Linked DNA regions of Homo sapiens: region 1 is linked to region 2. The links are contacts of gene promoters, found by promoter capture Hi-C in blood cells and fetal thymus (Javierre and others, 2016). All regions are on one chromosome and are shown on one strand. Each heading gives the region's core, a stretch centred on a gene start or on the middle of the fragment in contact. The rest is flanking DNA. Distances are from core to core; before and after follow the strand shown. Region 1 holds the start of NAA20 (N-alpha-acetyltransferase 20, NatB catalytic subunit). Region 2 holds the start of LINC01431 (long intergenic non-protein coding RNA 1431).

What was found. The method cuts DNA at HindIII sites, captures the fragments that hold promoters and counts their contacts. A CHiCAGO score of 5 or more calls a contact.
Region 1: the fragment with the promoter of NAA20 here is called in contact with the fragment with the promoter of LINC01431 in region 2 in 2 of 17 cell types (naive CD8 T cells and total CD4 T cells); the score reaches 7.7 in naive CD8 T cells.

What each region holds. Positions count from the first base shown.
Region 1 is chr20:20,014,681-20,018,927 of GRCh38, forward strand. NAA20 (N-alpha-acetyltransferase 20, NatB catalytic subunit) reads left to right here and starts at 2,682. Exons shown (of 6, transcript NM_016100.5): 1 at 2,682-2,769. The coding sequence starts at 2,717. RefSeq lists enhancers at 2,189-2,368, 2,983-3,483, 3,945-4,247 and silencers at 2,689-2,758, 2,809-2,928. The HindIII fragment of the contact is 8,583 bases long and covers 1-4,247 here.
Region 2 is chr20:23,355,452-23,359,847 of GRCh38, forward strand. LINC01431 (long intergenic non-protein coding RNA 1431) reads right to left here and starts at 2,676. Exons shown (of 3, transcript NR_109884.1): 1 at 2,504-2,676; 2 at 1,600-1,686; 3 at 1,143-1,518. RefSeq lists enhancers at 2,102-2,191, 2,382-2,771 and a silencer at 2,822-3,011. The HindIII fragment of the contact is 4,137 bases long and covers 1,660-4,396 here.

The DNA.
Region 1 (4,247 bases), core at 1,432-3,931, 3.3 Mb before region 2:
TTCTTAATAATGTGCATATATCCTTTTTATTAAAAAGTCTTTAAGAATGTAAATAGCCCTAAAAGGTATTTTTAAAACCCATAAAACAAGTGTGTCAACATGTAGACTTTTCTGGTTGAAGCAAGACAATAAGAGGAAAGGGAGGCGGCTTCCAAAGCCCCACCCATCTCCTCTAAGCTGCTCATCGGGGACTATGAGCAAACATCACCCCTCCAGAGCCATTTGTGCTAAGGTCTATGATTGAGGGCTGTGCCTCTCCTAACTCTACATCTCCAGATTCTGATCCTTCAAAATGCAAGATACTTAATTTCATTATTTTTCTTAACAAACACTTATATGGCACTTAAAATGTGGCAAGCACTGTTATAACTGCTTTACAAATATTAACTCATGTAATCTTCATAATAATCCAATGAAGTAGGTGCTATGATTATGCACCTTTTACAGAAACTGAGGCAAAGAGAGGTGAAATACCTTTGTTGAGAATGTGAATACCCTCTTTGTAAACTACCAAGGATGACATTATCTTCTGGGTAACCTGTGTGCCACTTTTTCACTCAGCTATTTAATCAATATTTGCTAGGCACTTACTGGCCACCCTTCGAGATGCTAATTCATAGGAGGCAATCAGCAATGGAAACTGATAACAGTTTAAAAATAAGTAGACAAACAGGAGAGAAGGGAGAACCAGCTGGTGAATATCCAGGATATTCTCTGTACTGCCCTGCACGTTCCCCTGACCCCATGTGTTGGAATGGCCACGTAGCTATAGGATATTTCTGATCTGTGCCTCAAAATCGGAATAATAATTCGTATCGGTGCTTGCAAACTGCTGGCCTACAGCATCCAGTTTCTGCAGGGTTCCAATGCTACCTTTGTGTTAAACCCACAGTGTTTTTTTCTAAAAATCAAAATCATGTTTATTCCACCATTACCTAGATACAAACATAAAGTAGCTATAAACTTCTAATGTTTATAATACCAATGAATCAGAGCCAAAAATATTATAAAAACCTTCACTACTTCATAAGGAACAAAATTCAAATCAACATTAGTTCATGTCACACACAAAAAATTATGAAACACTTTGAAATGGCCAGAAAAAGATTACTGTTTAGTACACGTTTCCAGGTTTTCTCTGCTTTTTATTGTCTTTGACAATACAAAATTTTACAAATTTGTAAGCTGAGGAAAATTGATAGTAATGAAAATTTTTCTTGTCCATAAAATACAAATGCATAGTGTTATACAGTGCCCAGGAGAGACAGTGATTACAGCTCTGTGGATATTGACCAGTTTAACACTCATGTGTAAATACATTTCAGCATTCCTGCTTGCTTTATGTATTTTATCTCTCTTTATCTTATCTTTTTGAGACAGGGTCTTGGTGTGTCACCCAGGCTGGAGTGCAGTGGTGCAATCATGTCTCAGAGCAACCTCTACCTCCCGGGCTCAAATGATCCTCCCACCTCAGCCTCCCAAGTAGCTGGGATTACAGGTGTGAGCCACTGTGTCTGGTCTGAATAAAGGAATTTTTAACTTTTAATTTTAACTACTTTAAATTTAAAAACTGATGTTTGGTTCAGCGATTTGAAAACAGTATATTTGGAACCGCTTGGATATGAGAATCTGCTTTTTAACCATACATTGATGAAATCTAAATAGAGAACAAGCATTTCCGATGACAGCTGCTCTCTCAGATTGAAATGCACTGCAAATGTAAAATACACACCGGATTTCAAAGTCTTTGCAAAAAAGAATGTAACATATCACATTCCTTTTTTTATTGATTGATTACATGTTGAGTATTGATTGGTTACATGTTGAAATGATATTTCGGGTATAATAAAGTGGGGTCAGGGAAAAATATTTTTCCCAAATAGGAAAAATAAATGGGTAAAATAAAGCGTACTATCAAAATCAATTTTACATTTCGTTTTGCTTTTATTTATTTATTATTTATTTTTGAGACCAAGTCTAGCTCTGTCGCCCAGGCTGGAGTGCAGTGGCGAGATCTCGGCTCACTGCAACCTCCGCCTCCTGGGTTCAAGCGATTCTCCTGCCTCAGCCTCCAAGTAGCTGGGATTAGAGGCGCGTGCCACCACGCCCAGCTAATTTTTATTTCTTTCCTTTTTTTTTTTTTTTTAGTAGAGAGGGGGTTTCGCCATGTTGGCCAGGTTGGTCTCGAACTGCTGAACTCAAGTGATCTGCCCGCCTTGGCCTCCCAGTGTTGGGATTACAGGCGTGAGCCACCGCGCCCGGCCTTCTTTTTGTTTTTAAACGTGGTATTGACATTTTAAGATGACATCTGCAACTCGCAACACTGGGACAAGGGATTCTGGGTCATAAATTCTCCCATTCCTCATTTACTCTGCAGCACCGGGTGGCTGCGAACTCCGCTCTTCTGCTTGGGTTTCCGCATCACCAGCAGCTTCTTTCCTTCCCAGGTGTCGCCGCCTGCTTTCTGCAGCCGCTGCCTGGGAGGGGTTCCGAGGTTCTGGGCAGCCACAGCCCCGGAGGCCTTACAGGAGCGACCTGGCAATTCCCGCCGCCGGCCGCCAGAGGAAGCTGCTTTGCTGCTGTCGTTGCCCAGCAACTCGTAGCCCGGAAGCAGTACCCCGTCTCGCTCGGTTCCGCGGCGGCCACGCTCCGGGAGACTTCCGGCAGGGCGGGCGCGGGGTCTTGGCGAACGGTCTTCGGAAGCGGCGGCGGCGCGATGACCACGCTACGGGCCTTTACCTGCGACGACCTGTTCCGCTTCAACAACATGTGAGTGACACGCGCCTAGGGCCAGCCGCTCTTGGCCGGGCCTCGCTTCCCGGCCCCGCCAGCTCCGGCCCCAGCCGCGCCTTCCCGGCCGGACCCCAAGCCCGGACGGGGACCCGCGAGAACCACCCCCCGCCGGCCAACGTGGGCGCCTCCCTGGGGCCACAGGGTCCAGGGAGAGGTGGGCCTGGAGTCGACGCACGCCGGCCTTGGCGACCTTGGCCGAGGTGCTCAAACTTTGTCTCTGGACCCTGCGAGCTGGCAGGTTCTGGGGCAGCGCTCGGGCCTCCGCTCGTGGTCGCTGTCAGGAGGCGCTGGGGTGATGGGGCGAGCTGGAGACGCGGCCTGGAGCCCACGACCTGGGCTTCTCGCCCTGCCCTACTGCTTGCTGGTTCGTGGCCGGGCCGCGCCTCTTCTGGGCAGAGGGCACCGCCGACGGCCAGGCCGCAGAGGGGGCTTGCGAGGATCGGAAGCTGGTCAGCAGCTGTTGGGATGTGTACATCGTGAAGCCCACCTGGTGGCCGTGGTTAAATTGTATCCAAATGAAATGACACTGATCACTGCGTCCCCTGCAGCAGATGCTGTCTCAGTCATGGTTAGTGTTTGCAAGTTTAGTTACTGTAGCTGCGCACCCCGGTGTACACACCTTTCCTCTGTGAGGAGTCACGGCAGATCTTAGGGGAGGCTCGCTGTGCCCAGAGCCCTGGATGCAGTTTCTTTGGATTCGAGTTAAGGCCAGACCTCTGATTTGCAGGTACCAATTTTTTTTTTTTAAGAAAACATTTTATTATGAAGATTCCCACACATTTAGAAAAGTTGGAGGAATTTCACCATGTGCTTTTATAGACACTTTTCCTGGATTCTGCAGTTAACATTTTGCTACGCTGGTATCTCTCCTTCCTTCCCATCTATCAGTCCTGGATCCACTTTAAAAAAACAACAGGGCGGTATGTGAAAACTAAGGACAAAGTGGTTCCGATTCAAGTGTCAGGAAGATGGAAAGAACTATGGGATAAGATGGCTGGGAACATTTCAAAGAGGGGGTGAGCCTTGAAGATGGATAACACATTGGTAAGTGAGGAAGACGGAAGTTCCGGAGAAGGAGCGGGGCATGAAAATGGGGAAACTTGAAGTGCGGTCAGACAACTGGGATCAGTGCGAATCTAGTGGCTGGTTTCTGCCACTGAGCAGTCAGGAAGAAATGGGTGAAACAGGAGGGGTTTAGACTTGATCCTGTGGAAAGAATTTTCTGTTGGGCCAGTCTGGTAGCTACGGTGACTTGTGTTGAACTCACTGTTCCCTGCATTGTTCTGAGTGCCCACGTAATAATCCAGTTAATCCTCACGATTCTTTGAGGTGCTGTCACCCCCATTTTGTGTATGAGTAAACCAAGGCATGGCAAGCACAAGTGAATTGGCCCAGGTGAGAATGAGTAAAGCGAGGAACTTCATCCAAGGATATTGGCTCTGGAGCAGTGGTTC
Region 2 (4,396 bases), core at 1,426-3,925:
CTGATTCTGAGAGGAAGAAGCACTGAAACTAGGATGGAGGACATCAGAACCAGAAGCTGCTGTTACTGATCCTAAAGGCCAAACCCAATTGCATTTCTTCAATGTAAAGAATAGAAAACCCTATAGAAGTTGGACCAATAGATGATGTGCCTGCCATGCTGCAGCTTCCCCAGTTAAGTTGTCTTTGGTAAAAGTGTGCTAGGTTTGGGATAGGGTAGTCAAGATACTGCAATGGGAAATTTTGAGAAGGGTAAGAATCCTGATAAGCACAGTGACACAGGTAGCCGTTTCCTCTTGACACCCCTTCCCTTCTCTATTATCTGAAGCCCAGTGTTTTGAGAGATAAGGGACCCACCTTAAATACTTGACTTTCTCATTCAATTTGTAGCTAGGTCTGACATGTGATTAAGTTCTGGCCAATGAAGTAGGACTGAACTTGGGGGAATTTTCCTTCAACAGACCCTTCTTTCTTTCCCACTCTATCCTGCTGCCTGGAAAGGTTATGCTGACCTGACCACGGGCTCTGGCTCAGTCTTGGCCAAGAGAACAGCTCAGCCATACCCTAGACGTAGGATAGTGCTGAGCTAAAAGGAGCCTAGGTCCCATGTGGAAACACCAAAATAGCCCCAGCTCACTCAACCAAAGACTTCTTTTTAAATGAGAAATCCCATCTTAAGCCATTATCAATTTGGGGTGTGTGACACTGACACACAGCAGTAATCCTAAGTGAGGAAAAGGATTTGAATGGGGCAGACTGTATTCACTACAGGGCCCAGAAGACGCGGGGACGGCCCCAACTACTGCCCTTCAGGTCCGGGCCAGACCCGCAATGGGCAGGATGGGTAGGGTACAGGGCGTGCGTCCCCACCTACACTAGCCTGGTTGCAGGCGGCCTCCAAGGGCACAGCGGGAAGCTCCGCCCTTGCCATGCCCCCGCCACCGGGGAAGGCAAGACAAATGTGCGTGGCACCCTCCTCCTTCGGTTCTGGGACACATCTCCACCAAGCGGCCGTTCGGCAGGTAGGGCCAGATGGTCCCGGCTCGTCCCTGCGGGTGGGGTTTCCCACCGGCGGAAAGCGCAAGCCCCTCCCGTTCTGTCCAGCGCGCTGCCCGCTGCCTTAATTATAAGGCAGATGAAGGTGAAAAGTTTACTGGTTTTTATTTTTGCAACTTTTTGTAAATTTTAAATTATTCTAAAAAGTTTAAGAAATGAATTGTGCTGAGGAGTATAATCAGCACGCAGTGCGAGTTCTTATAGTGGCCACGTCCACAAACCCTGTGTTGTGGAAGAACAGAAGGCGTTCTGCTTTCTGTGTTTCACCGTCTCTCCCTCGCTTTAACTTCCAGGTCCCGGAGTAGTGGTGACAGCAAGGTCTGTTGGTTTCTTTGGTTTAGGTTTGATGAAAGGCCACTCCAGTGGGGTAGGAGGTGGGCAGGGAGAACAGGGGCTAGGGTGGGAGGGGCAGGAGTTGGGTCCTGGGGGTGGAGGAGATGACGGGGAGAGTGGCTTGGAGAAATCTGCAAGAAGAGACATTGGAAGGCCGGGGGAGGTGAAATGGACACTGGGTGAAGCTGAGGAGTCCTAGTGAACCATGTTACCTCTGATCCAGATATTCCCAGAACAACAAGAAATCAAGCTTCTGAATGTGGTCTGTTGCAAGCTTGGAAGGTGCACACCTGTTGCTGCTAATTTGGACAATTTGGGGGAAGAGCAGAGATTTAGATGTTGCTTTGGTCGACCTTAAACACCAGCCCTGTCTCCCCTACCACTTTGCCAAATTAGGGCCCCGTCTCTCTAAAGAGCAAACAGAAAACTGCAGAAAGTTGCTTTGTCCTGTAGACAAGAGGCTGGGACTAGGTAAGAGGAGGGAGCCAGGATGCAAAACTTAAGACCAGCCTGGCCAACAAGGCGAAACCCCGTTTCTACTAAAAATAGAAAAATTAGCTGGGCGTGGTGGCAGGCGCCTGTAATCCCAGCTACTCAGGAAGCTGAGGCAGGACAATCGCTTGAACCCAGGAGGCGGAGGTTGTAGTCAGCCAAGATCGCGCCACTGCATTCCAGTCTGGGCGACAGAGCGAGACTCCGTAACAAAAAACAAACAAACAAACAAAAAATCTTAAACATCACCAACGAGCCTTGTGAGAAATGGTTTAACGTTGTGATACCTTGCCCAATTTTAAGGCAGGTAAAGGTGTGTGTTAAAACTCAACTCTTGAACTGAACCCCAGCTGCCCTTTAGGGCATGCTTAATTTGATGTGGACTGTAACCTCTTTTGCAGCATTGTAGAGATTTGGAATCTGCACATTAGGAAGAGACCCCACGAGGCGGTGGCGTTCTTTCTCGTTCGGAGCTCACACCCCTCCTGGGGAGCCCTCTCCCAACCCGGGCTCCCGGTAAGCGCGGTCGCCGCTCCTCTGAGGGCTGCTCTTCCCTCGCTTCTGAGCCGAGGCCCCCGCGACACGAACGCCACGCCCGAAGCGCTCTTGCCAGGACGTACTGACCGAGGGTAGGCTGCCCAGCCGGGTGGTAACGTTGAGGAAAGGACAGCAGCTTCGCAAAGGAGCTGGGTAAAACCACGCCCAGACCCCGCTGGCCACCAGCCCGAGACCAAGACGCAGGCGGTGGCGCCGGTTTCTCACTCAACCGCAGGTTCCAGCATCCCCGATACGGCCGACGTCATTACCCTGCGACCGCTCAGGACACTTCTGAGGACTCTTTTGACAGCTAGTAATCGCGCGGTGGCGCGACCACGTGACTCCGGCGCCCTAGCCCCGCCCTCCGTCTCCAAGGAGCCCTGGAAGGAGCTATACCAGCGGCTCCAGAAGGCGGGGAGAGGCGGGGCCGGACTCCGGGACAGCCAATGGGCGAGGAGTGCCGCCCAGCCTGACCCACCGGCCGCTCCCTCACGAGCCTGTGGGCGTGCGCCGGCTGTGCAGGTGAGGGGCAGCGAGGGCGCCTAGTGGGCAGGGCGCCGGCGTTGCGCGTGCGTCAGTGTTCTTCCTTGTGCAGTTTAGAATTTGATACATTTCTTTCCAGTCTATTTCTATAGATTTGTTTTCAAATCACATCAGACCCTATGTAAAATAGTGTACCGTCTTTACTCATTATAACATGGTGAGCATTTCCCCAAGCTATTACACATATTTTTAAACATTGTTTTAATGACCGGCATAATAATCCAGTGCTTGGATATATCAAATTCTTCGGCCATCTCCTTATAGGTGAGATTGTTTCCAAAGTTTCACTAATGTAAGTGCACTGCAGTGAACGCCCTTACGTAACAATTGTTCACTCCCGTGTACTTTTCTCGTGCAGAGTTCTACAGCATGAAACACTATATTTAACTTTGTCAGGTTGATGTTTATCAGTGGTTTATTATTGTTTTTATAGTATTCCATTGTCAGTGAAGTATGCCATTCACACTGTCAAGTGAATTGTCTATTTGTATTATTTAAAAAAAAGATCACAAACATAGAAAGGAGAGCTTTATTTCTTTAAACGGTGATAACCTGCAAGGTGGCCCTTCTGACAGGCTGGGAAGCATAGCTTCTGGCAGAAGCTCAAAAGGCAGGCAGCTGGAGGGAAGGGGGCCTAAGACAGGAATTTAAGCTGAAGGACTTAGCCAAGTACACATATGAACAGGCCACAGGAAGAGCTATGAATATTCATGAAACGGGTCCTGACCCATGCTTACTGGACAAACGTGCATGTTACAGGTGACCTATGTTTACTTTGGGGTGGACTCTTAGCATTTACAGGTATTCATGTATTACATTTAGACCCTATAAGTTGAAAGATCTTTTCAGGACACCGATGCACTTGTGTGCAGCCTCTGTAAACCGCCAGAATCAGCCCCTGTTCGGTTGTTTCCCATCAGGAAAAAGTTACTGCAGTCAGTCTCTGGTCCAATCAAAGCAGTAATTATTTGTGGAAGTGGTGGGGCTGGGGCAGGGGGCGTGTCAGTCAGCATGTGGAGGTGGATGAAAAGCACATTGTTTGAATATTGCTTATCTAGAGGCCAGTGCTTGTTTGGCTGCCAGAGAATAAAAACCTTGTGGCAGTTAAGGCATAGTTTCTTCTTGAAGTGTAGAGGTGCATGACAACCCTTGCCAGGCATGGCCCTTCATTCTTTATCATTTAGTATTGCCACAAAGAGTCTGTGAGTCTTATGACCTCTATTTTTAAAGCTATTAAGACACTCAACTAAAGCAATCCTTTCAGTATTGAATGGATAAGCTAGCATTATGTTATGCTAGCTAACATAATCGGAGACGGAGTCTCATTCTATTGCCCAGGCTGGAGTGCAATGGCATGATCGAAGCTCACTGCAACCTCCATCTCCTGGGTTCAAGTGATTCTCCTGCCTCAGCCTCCTGAGCATCTGGGATTACAAG